Linked DNA regions of Homo sapiens: region 2 is linked to region 1. The links are contacts of gene promoters, found by promoter capture Hi-C in human tissues and cell types (Jung and others, 2019). All regions are on one chromosome and are shown on one strand. The core of a region is centred on a gene start or on the middle of the fragment in contact, and the rest is flanking DNA. Distances in the headings are between cores, read along the strand shown.

The links. The method cuts DNA at HindIII sites, captures the fragments that hold promoters and counts their contacts. A contact is called where the count stands out against the background at its distance.
Region 2: a fragment that was not itself captured here is called in contact with the fragment with the promoter of ELOVL4 in region 1 in 1 of the 25 tissues and cell types used here (aorta).

What each region holds. Positions count from the first base shown.
Region 1 is chr6:79,944,271-79,949,978 of GRCh38, forward strand. It overlaps ELOVL4 (ELOVL fatty acid elongase 4), which reads right to left and starts at 3,283. Exons shown (of 6, transcript NM_022726.4): 1 at 2,910-3,283. The coding sequence starts at 3,009. It overlaps LOC124901350, which reads right to left and starts at 5,363. Exons shown (of 2, transcript XM_047419628.1): 1 at 5,298-5,363; 2 at 3,117-3,741. The coding sequence starts at 3,545. The coding sequence ends at 3,117. LOC124901351 (a long non-coding RNA gene) reads left to right here and starts at 3,535. Exons shown (of 3, transcript XR_007059656.1): 1 at 3,535-3,657. RefSeq lists a silencer at 3,343-3,392. The HindIII fragment of the contact is 11,635 bases long and covers 1-5,708 here.
Region 2 is chr6:80,460,580-80,466,287 of GRCh38, forward strand. It overlaps a transcript of BCKDHB not described here. Among named protein-coding and RNA genes, the nearest start is that of BCKDHB, 360 kb to the left of the region's middle. The HindIII fragment of the contact is 3,155 bases long and covers 763-3,917 here.

The DNA of each region.
Region 1 (5,708 bases), core at 2,033-4,532:
CAATCCTAATAATTTAAATGTACTCATGAAGTGAAAGAATAGAAGAAAAAAACTAACATGATGACATGGAATACCTACTCTAATACTAACAACTAGTATAAAGTCCTACACCAGCCTATACTTTAACATAAACCAACGCTAATTTCCTCGTTCAAAATGTCTACAAATACAGAGAAATAAAAATTATTTTTGTTGTTTTTCTAAAAGTATAGCTCTTTCAAACTTTCAATTCCAATGTACAAAGTGTTAATACTGTAGTAAAAGTAACATTTTTGTTGTTAACATTATTATGGACCATATTTTGTATTTGCTACATATGTGCCTCTGAAAAGCCCAGTTTTCAGACATTGCTTTGGATATGTTTGGATATTTAAAGCACCATTTGATATAATAGCACAAAATGGCATTTAATGAATTAATAAAAGAATGAAAGAAGCATGTAACTACAGCACTAGGAATGAGAGCAGCCAAGGACAAGGAGCCTACCTCATTTCTTGCTCTCCCTCAATAATTTGCATCCTTTCACCACACTCATCACTATTTCTCAAGACCATCTTTCTATCCCGCCCATTTCTGTTTCCCCTTCTTTCCAAACATTTGACTCACCAACTTTTGTTTAACCTCATCTTATAAGCTACTTTTCTATTTTGATATCCCCCACCCAGATTTTCATCAAATTATGCTGAGAGGTGGAATCAGAGCAGAGTGAATGAGTCCAAAAAAAAAAAAAAAAAAAAAAAAGGAACACGAGGGGCATAGAATGAGGGAGAGTAAACGTAAATGGGACACCACAGACTTCAGGTCTATTCGGCCTGGACCTGAAAAATACTCCTCCTCACACAGCAGTACAGCAGAACAGACTATATCCACTAAGCCTCTCTGTTGGTTAAGAAATACCATCTGCCTACATAAGGTAGCTCATTACAGAAAGCAAGGAAGCAGTCTCAGGTTTCGTAAGTGGATAGTCAAAGCATAGGCAAATACCTTCCTTCGGCCTGCTAGTGAGAGGTCACTTGTGTTCTAAGGCTACTCTCACTTCTCAGGCTTGGCCCACAATATTATATTATTTTATATGCCCTTCGAAGCCTAGTAGCAAGCTTTCACATGCGGCAACTGCACAAAATTTCCTGTTTCATTTGTGTGTGTGTGGTTTCTTTTACACAAACATCATCAGGAAGGAATTCACCATCACAGAAAGGTGTATTCTACCTTTGCCCTCAATTTTTCCTTCTGAGACTCAAGAGATGGGAAAGCTCCGGGATAGGATAGGAATGACAGGACCGAGAACTCCTGGGTGTGGCTCTGGCTATATGGAGACTGGAGTATCTCAACAGTGTCTGACTCCTAGGTGTGCGAAGTGCAATTACCTGCTAAAGAACTTGTCTGATGTTCAGCTCTATACAATTGTGTAATGGGAAGCCCTGATGCAACGTTTAAAGAACCGAAATCACAGACGTGAAGGGAAGGGCACATCTTTCCCAGTTTTTGCAGGTACAGTGTAACATCAGTGTAATAGCGCATAGAAACAAAAAAAAAAACTGAAGAAACACTCCATTGAAAACTGCCTTTTAACCATTTTCAGCTGTAATGGCTTATTAAATAGCTTATTTCCCAGTGTCAAAGTTGAGATCTTCTGAAAAAGAACATACTTTTCTAAAGAAGTGAATGCAGTATTAATGCCAAATAATCATTTTGTCTCTCACAAAAATAATTCCAGCATACGTTTTTCCCAAAACATAAGCCCTATGTATCGGACTACATTCATGCTGTAACCACTGTCTAATTTCCTCTAACAACAATGAACACAAAAACTACAGGAGTACATTTTCATTTCGAAGTAGGGAAGGCAGAGTCATAAGATGGAACGTTAATATCCTTCACTGATAGGATGCAGTGTGATACTGCAAAAGGACCAGAAAAATTGACCTCGTAAAATCATTTCTGAAATCCTTTAAACCTTATTTTAGATTTCAAAGACTTTTAAATGCTTTAAAATCAAAAGCAGCGAAGCAAATGAAGAAATAAACAGTACAATGTAAAAATATAATATCACAGTTGGACGCTAGGAAAGCTGCATAAATCAAACAATTGACAGCCCTGCCAAATTAACTGCAACAGCTAAAGAAAAGTTTGCTGATTTAAGAACTGTATATATGTAGGCATCTGGGACAACCTCTAGGTGTTGCTGTAGAGACCCCCTTCCTAAAGACTGATTTCTTCCCCGGTGTTTTGGCCTCCCCCTCCCCCTGACTGCACTGCAGTGCGCAAAGCCATTATAGACAATCACTTCAAACATATTTGCTGTTGAAAATGCCTCGGAAACTAACATTCTTCAAGGTTCAAGGAGCCAAACAATATTATTTTACTTTTCAGTCCGAATTATACTATAGATGAAGGAGCTAGATAGAAGAAAAGATTAGCAGGGTTCTGTCAAAGCGACCAGGAGGCTGAAGAAACCTCCTGTACCTTCAGCTGCCCCTGAAGCCCTCCTTCCTCCCCAGCCCGCTCTCCATACAAAATAGGACTAAATGTTAAAAGGAATCCTGTGCACGGGGAAGAGGGAGGCGAGCTCGGGAGATGTGGGAGCACAGGGTGGGGCGGCTCCTGCGAGGAGCTCCTGGCTGCACAGGCTCCATCTGATATGTCAGCTCCCGCATCCGAGAGCTGATGAGAGATGGAGGGAGCTCAGAAGAAAACCCTGCGAGTGTCGGGGGAGGGGAGGCCTTAACATTCGGATCAGATTAACCAGTGCTCAACCGCAGTGCCCGCGCCGGCCCCTCCGCTGATCCGCAGCATCCGAAAGCCGCAGGGCGCGGGGGCCTGTGGGGCCGGGCCCGGGAGCTGCGAGACCAGGGGCCGGTGACCCCCCGCGGGGGACCGAGCGAGGATGGGGAAGTCAGCGGCTTTACCTGCGATGGACCAGGTCCAGCGGTAGAACTCTACCGTGTCGTTGAGTGCCGTGGACACTACGTTTAGGACACTACCCGGCTCCGAGTCCAGGAGCCCCATCGCGGCGATGAGCGGGCGCTGGCGGCAGGAGAAAGCGGAGACCCAGAGAGAGGGCTGACCCCGGAGGCGGTGGCGGCCGACGGGGCGAGCGGCGGCCGGGAACCCCTCTAACGGCGGCGGCCCGGCTGCGTCTTCTCCTGCTCCTCAAGGCGCCGCGGCGGCGGGGATGCGGCAGAAGGCAGGGCCAAGCGGAAGGCGTCGTCAAGGTTCCCGGGAGAAAGACGAGGAGGTGGAGGAGGCCCAGCCGCCAGCACAGTGCGCTGCACCAGTCTGCAGCCTCGCGCAGCCGCCCCTCCAATCTCCTCAGCCGGCGTCACGTGGCCGCGCGCGGGGGCGGGGGGCCGGCCGCCCCTCCTCCCTCCCTCCCTCCCTAGTATTGGGACTCGCTGGCGTAGGGATGCTGCGCTCAAGGGTGCGACGCCAACTGGGCTCGCGCAGGCGCGCGCCGTCGAGCGGGAGCGGGACACCTGGGCTCCTCCTTGGCCCCTCCCCGCACAAGTCGCCTCATTAGCCTTCCCCGCCCCTGTCCCGGGCATCGGCCCCTGCGGAGGAGTTCACCGCCTCCCCACGGGTGATTTCTTATCCGCCCCGGATACGTCCTGGGAAACAGGACACGGGAAGAATGGGTGTTCTGTGGGCAAAGATGAGGTAGGCGTGGTGCTTTGGTCCTTACCTGACACTCACCTCGATTTCACTTGTGTTCCTGTTTCTTTGACCTCCACCAGCACATGCCTGTCACCATGACAAGAGAAGTGCATGTGTTATGCCTCTGAAGAAGTGAAGGGTATTTGTCTTCCATGCTTCAGCGATGGAGAATAGACTTTGGGGTCGACCCATGAACAAATCAACATATAATTGCATGAATGCTTGCATGTGTTTTGTAGACTCTTTTACTATACATGGAATGAACAAAGCAATATAATTGTGCTAAATTAGGCCATTAGTAGTTCAGAGAAGAGGGAGAACCGAGAGGGGCTTACAGGTGAAGTCCGCTTGAACCTGAAGAAGTTGAGGTGAATCTGAAAAAGATAATCGCTCAAGAGGCAAAGGGCAATTTAGTGTAGAGAGGAAAACAAAGTAATTGTGGCTATTTTGAAAAATTGTTTAGATAAGGTATAGGAGAGCCTACCCTTGAAAAGTAAAAAAAATACAGTACTTGGAATTCATAATTTGATGGTTTCTCACATAAAACAAGATTTTTGAGAATAGTCCTTTCATCTACTTGTTTTTTAAATGTGTCACCTACTTGTTTAACCTTTTCTCCACTTGCTCATTTTGGATGCTACATTTTAAAGACCAGTGAGTCAAGTGTCTTATTGTTCCTGCCCTTTCACACTGTTAATGTGAATACTATCTTTTATCATACTGAAATGATCTATTTCCCAATTGACCTGGTTATATATTGTCTATATTTTATATTGGAAGCATCCTAGATGGTAAGAATTATTTTTGGTTGCTTGATGAGTACCTAACCCAGTGCTATAAACAGTAATTAATAAATATTTATGATGACAAAAATATAACATGTCTTTCAGAGAATAATAAGGATTATTGTGAGTGGCAGGAACTTTATTGCCGAACTAAAGCAAACACAGACTTCTTTAAATGCCCTATTCTTGAAATTAACCAAATAAAATGTTAATTTATTAATTTGTCAAATATATTTGCAAATCTAAAGTTTTCTGGATTGGAATGACAATTTCTCAAGTCTCAATCCTAAATTATGTGTAACAGATTCTAGTAGCTATATAAAAAAAAGAAATCCAGTCAAGTCTCTTCATTTAGGGAGTGGATAAATACCCATTCATTTACAGTGATGATCTAACAAAGTTCGGATTAGTTCGAGCTTCACCTAAAAATTTGATTACTATTTCTATATTGTGGAATCCTGGAGTTTTTAGGGAGAACAGATCTCTACCCATACTTCCATTCACACACGCAAAACTGCAGCATAATACTTAATACAAGGAGAAATTGTTAAAACAGCTTCAGGTATTTCCCTGGTATTTCTTCTACCGTGGAGGTCAACTTAAGTCCCTATTCACTAGGGGGTGCCAGTCACGTATAAGAAAATCATAGATGAGATAACCTTCAGCTGGGAATGGCGGTCACACGGATATCACCGTGTCCACACTCCACCTGTAAGAGTAGAATGTTTATTTACATTTATAAGCTGTCTAAACATATACCAAGAACCAGAACATAAAACTTACCCAATCTGGAACCCTATTACCTGGCATGAATAAGTGGTTTGTAAATACCAGTGACTGCCCAGAACCAAAGCCTACCTTGTTTAGTTGTGCAAAGGGAGGGAAACCCGCATGTCTGCCACCTAGAATAACAGCCATCTAACCAAAATCTTGGTAGCATCATAACAGAGTAAAAGCAAATACAAGCAACAACAGCATCTGCAAACTTTGAGAACAGAGTTCTTTCATGTGGATCAAATGCAAATAGGATACAGTTACCTACAAAACCTAAAGGAGAGGACATTTTATCATAAATTTTTTTGTATAAAATAGCAATATTTTTTTCTTTTTAGAAACAGGGTCTCACTCTATCAGCTAGGCTGGATTGCAGTGGTGTAATCATAGGTTAGTGCAACATCGAATTCCTGGGCTCGAGCTATCCTCCTGCCTCATCCTCCTGCCTCAGCCTCCTAAATAGCTGATAGAGAAGGAGGACTGGCTGTGTTGCCC
Region 2 (5,708 bases), core at 1,090-3,589, 520 kb after region 1:
TTTTTAGGTTTATCCTCAAAACATTGAAGTTGAAGAGACTTGGAGCTCCCTGACTTAGTGGTATATTTCAGTTATGAATAATAAGAGACATGAAGCATTTGTTACTATTGTAAAAACCTGATGAGCTCTATCCCACAGTGACTCAAAACTCTGCTGAGTTAATACTTTTGGAACAAGACTGATCTTGGCTTGAAATTACACTGAGTTAAGTGGACACTTTTTAGACCTTATCTTTCTTGACTGCTCTGCAAACTTTGACATTGTTGACTGAACTCTTCTCTGTGAAAGTCTTCCTTCTCTGTGAAACTCTTCAGCAGAGCTGAACTCTTCCTTGGCATCTGAGATTCCTCACTCTCAAAGAGATTCTCCACTCTACCTTATGATGGCTCTTGACCAATCTCTTAATAGTTGGTCTTGCTGAGATTTTGTCGTGATCTTGTTAGAATTAAACACTAAACGCATAGTCTCTTGGTGACGTAATCTATTTATGAGATCAACTACTACATATGGGATAAAGAATTTAAAAATCAATTATATTCTGAGATCAAAATCTCTATTTCCAACACCTCACTAGATTTTTTTACTTGGATGTTCTTCTGGTATCCCACATTTAATGTGTCCAAACTGAACCCATTATGTTCTGCCCTGCTTCTCCTATTCTTCCTGTTTCCATAAATGCTACCACCTAGTTGCCTCATTCAAAAACCATTCTTGAGTCCACCTTCATTTTTTCCCACAAATAATCAATATCCAAGACTGTGTCTATATTCTAATCCTCTCTCATCTTATCCATATCTGGTCATATTCATTGTCAGTGTCTCAGTTCAGGCTCCCATTGTCTGTTTCTTGATCACTGCCTTAGACTCCTAACTGGTTTTCCCTGACTCTTTTCTCTATGCTTCAGAGTTTTACAAAGTGTTACAAAATAGACATCTGATCATTTCTTTCACCTGATGAAAACTCTCCCCAAATTTGCTATCATCCTAATCATAAAGTCAAACTTGTAAGCAAGTAAAGAAGTCCTGGATGCTCTGATTTCTTTTTATTTTTTAATCTCTCTAGCTTTAGTGTTTTCCATCTTTCCTCTTGTACTCTACCCTATGGCCATATTAAAATACTTGAAATTGTTCAATGAGCCATTTTCTGTTTTTCCTCTGGGTCTTTGCCTATGCCCTTCCTTCTTCCTGGAATAATCTCTTTGTTGGTCTCATTGTTTGTCTGGCTTCTAATACACAAACAGTTGTCCTTATGATGTAAATGTGGAGAAAACCAACAGATGACAGCAAAATTTACCTGAAAATGAAGCAAAGAAATGAGGAGTTTAAAAGACAGAGAAGAACTGCCTTTAATCAAATGCTTGGAGATTTTGAACTTCTTATATTTTGATTACCAATGTACTTTTTTTTTCAAATGTATAAAGGTACTGGATTTTCCTAGCCCTTTCTGTTTATTTCATGTTCCTATCCATAAAAAATAAAAAGTGGTTTGACTATTTTCAAGGCATAAAAGAAAAACAACTATTACCTTTAAGCATATACTGTAGCATTAAACACATATTGTCTCTTTTCAATTCTAGGCCTAAGTTAGGAGTTCTTTCTTGTTACTTCTATGAGATCTGATGCATTTATATTTCATGATACTTATGAAAAAATATTTTCAATGCCTATTTACTTATCTTTCTCCTTCAAGAGTTATTTGAGGGCATGAGCTATATCTTTTCAACATCATATCCCTAATGTCTTTCTCAATAGTTGGTACATGGTAGGCACTCAACAGATATGTTTTAGAATTAACTAATTAATTGTGGAATTATAACCCAAGAAGAAGAAGATGCTTCAAATATCGTGCATTATTTCAGAGTCACTAAGCATCAGATGAGGATTTCTGGGCAACTTTTCTTAGCTGATGTGCCTTCAGCTCACATCCAGACATGGGAATGATAGAGAGATAATAGACAATTAATTTTAGGTTACAGTAGCCACAAACTGGGCCCTGAAAGCACATAGCCAGTGTTTCAGGAGTCTTCTCCGTGCCCTTCTAAGTGAGTATGAGAGAGAACTTTTATGGTTCTTGAAGGCATTATGGCCCCCATAATCTCTGAAGCCAGGGAAATACTTAATTCCACATTCATGGCTTTTGGGAATTCAAGTAGAATCCAGAATGTTGGACCTGATGCTCCATGAATTTGTGGGAATCAAATCAAGGTTGTCAGTGGTTACAGAGTGCCAAGAGGACTTGATATTTCCATAGATTTTCTTCTTCCAAATGAAGCTTGAAATTATTTGTCTATAGTTCTGCCGGAGGCCTCTCCAGATTGTGATGCACTGGGAGCAAGCCACCATGAACATATCCTCAGGTCTCCAGTCTTCTGCCATCGCATGAAAAATGGAGCTTGTCAAACACAGAGCAGAGCTGAACTTTCTGAATTCCACAGGACAGTTCAGAGTGCTTGGAATGACACCCACCTGCAATTTAAACAAAAAAGAAGGATGAGTAAGTGAGGAGCTAAAAATTGCATGTTTCCCTAAATTAGATTTATTTGTAAGCTTTAAGTAAGTGCAAACATATTTCGAATTATCTGTTATGAATTGTGGTTTTGTTATTAAATAGACATTTTGTTTAATTCTTATGTGCAAAGTGAAAAGAGACTTGTTTTGCTGGATTTTTCTTTTTGGTAAGTATTGAATTTTGAAGGGGTACTAGTTTTTCTAGCCAAATTGAAAAATTTCTCAGAATTTAAAGGATACTCCATGTGAGTTCAAGCTGTGTTAGGGTTTGGCTACATATTTTTCTTTGGCAATGAAAAGTATGTTTGATTCTTATGACTTGGTAGACTTCAAACAGGCTCACACACAAACTGTTGTCCTTATAAGGTAGATGTGGAGGAAACCAACATATGAGAGTGAAATTTATCTCAAAGCAAAGAAGTGAGGAGTTTAAAAGATAGAGAAATGCCTTTGATTAGATTCTCTGAGGTTTTGAGCTTCTAATATTTTGATTTTCAATATACTTTTTTTTTTCCAAAATTTGAAAGGTTCTGGGATTTCTTAGCCCTTGTTGTTTGTTTAAAGTTCCTATCCATAACTAATAGAAAGAAAGTGGTTTGGCTATGTTCAAGGCTTAAAAGAAAAACAGCTACCACCCATAAGCATCTATTATATGCCATAACATTGAACACATATTGTCTCATTTAATTTTCCTGGCCTCGTCACACTACAGTATTATCTTCCTCACTTTACATATGGGAATAATGAAACTCAGACAGGTAAAGTGATGTACACAAAGGCATGCAGTTAGTAAGTTTTGGGCCTTGTCCATCTGCTGTTCCCTATGTCTGAAATATTGTGTCCAGCATTCCCTTGGGCTCATTCCTCCTACCTTCCCTACTTTCTTTGAATAACTCCTATATCCTTCAAAGCACAGTCTCTGGTTTTCCACCACCACTCCAGTCTTAGTTAGGTGCCCTCCCACTTTCTACCCGACCGAGTCTGCCTGCATCAAACACAGATTACAAGTGCATTGAGTCTCTCTCATCTTTAAATCTTTATTATTATTATTATTCTTTTGAAGTGGAGTCTCACTCTGTCACCCAGGCTGGAGTGCAGTGGCGCGATCTTGGCTCACTGCAACCTCTGTCTCCTGGGTTCAAGTGATTCTCCTGCCTCGGCCTCCTGAGTACTGGGACCACAGGCATGTGTCACCACGCCCGGCTAATTTTTTTGTATTTTTAGTAGAGATGGGGTTTCACCATATTTGTCAGGCTGGTGTTGAACTCCTTAGCTCATGATCCACCCACCTCGGCCTCCCAAAGTGCTGGGATTGCAGGTGTGAGCCACTGCACCCAGCCTCATCTTTAAATCTTTAGTGATTCACTTAGCTCTACTAATTATTATTTGTGAAATAAAATTTTAAATTAGTAACTTCCTTAGAATTTCTATGAATAATTGCTCAATTGCCTTATCTGAAAAGAAAACCTTAATATCTAATAAAAATTCCTCTCCTCAGTCTTGCCCAATGGAGGCCATTCACTGAACAGTTGAAAGGAGACTGCTTGCCCTTTATTCCTCACACTTCTTTCATACTATTCTTCCAACATAACCATTAAATTTCACCTCAGAAGAAAGGCCACAATATTCATTATACTGCTCTTCCACATTTGCAGTACATCTTAGTTTCTGTATTCTAGGATAGTGAAGATAGAGCCTCAGGTAAGAATTAAGTGCTAGTGCTTTATTGGGAGTTAAATCCCAGGAGAGTGAGAACAAGAGAAAAGGTAAGTGGTGCAGCCAAGAAAGGTGAAGCATTACCCCTCCATTGGCTTCTTCACAAAGCAGGGCAAAGAGCACCTACTGTTATTTGGTAGGTGCCTACACTCAGTCATACAGGACTTCTTTATGCAGGCTGATTGGAGAAAGTAAGACAGAGGAAATTGAGCTGCCCAGGTTTTTTTCCCTGCCTCTCTTTGGCCAAGATAGCACCAGAGAGTGTTAACTACCTTGCATTCCAGTTTGGGTCATTCAGCTCCTTTAGCAGCCTCCTGGGAAGCCAGATGCACTCCCTGTGGTGGCATTTCCCCAAATGTAGAAGAGATGAGAGGAGTCAGAGACTGTGGGCTTAAAGTGGTTAGTTTTAAAAGGCTGACTGCATAGCCCTGCATTGGTAGTGGAAGTGAAGTAAGCTGCTGAAAATTGAAACAGGTAAACCTGAGAAACTCAGAAGGGGCATATGAATCCATACAGACATACTTCCACCTCGTACATCTGATTTATTTCTCTTTTTACACCATTTTCTGTCACAAATCTCACAGCTTTCCAAACTATAGTACAACTGGTCAAAATGTCTGAATGTTGTATACCAGGAAAATATGCTGGCAACTCAACCACAGCACAAGTCTAAAATCAAATTTTCTAATACTGTTCTGTCAAAACATTTTCCTTCTCTGATTTTTGTCATTTCTCTTCATGGAGACATGAATGCTTGTATTAACTTAGGTTGAAACATCAGAACTTCAGAGTTATCTCTGATTCCATCCCTCCTTCCACCCGTAGGCAAAGCACATCATGTAAACATATTAGCAATCTCTCAGTAGTGGTGAGGATACTCTCTGGCACAAATTGCACATTTAGCAAGAGTTTGAATAAAATAAATAAATCTGTTTGCTTTTCAGTTTGCTGCTACATTTGTGTGGGAAGTGCTGCTTGCCGATAGGGAAGTAGGAGAGGAAATAAGGAAAACAATAAACCAAGTACAGTTTTGCAAATACCCAGACACATTGGATGGACACAGAAGCTTTCACTGGGAGATTATGAAGGGTAGATGCTTTGTGTCTCCATTGCCTCCTGTGATGTGACCTCACATTACAAGCCACTGTGGTTGGAACTGCTGGCAAAATGGAAAGAACCAGGAAGAACATCAAAGGAGAGTTTTAAAAGGATATGAAATGTATTAATTTGTCGTAATTATCTACTTTTGATAGAAGAATCTCAGAGGTACTTAAGTTGATGTCTTGGACCTTCAGTCCAGTGCTGACATCTTGTAAAATGTCTTAAGTTCCTACCAGGTAATTTCTGCTTTCTGTCACAAAGCAGGAGAGAAGTTCCAGGAGGAAGTCATGTATTTTTCTCATCTTTAGGTATATTATATGTATACCCCATATTTCCCTATATTATACTTACACATATATTTATGTTACACTTTCTATTTCTCTT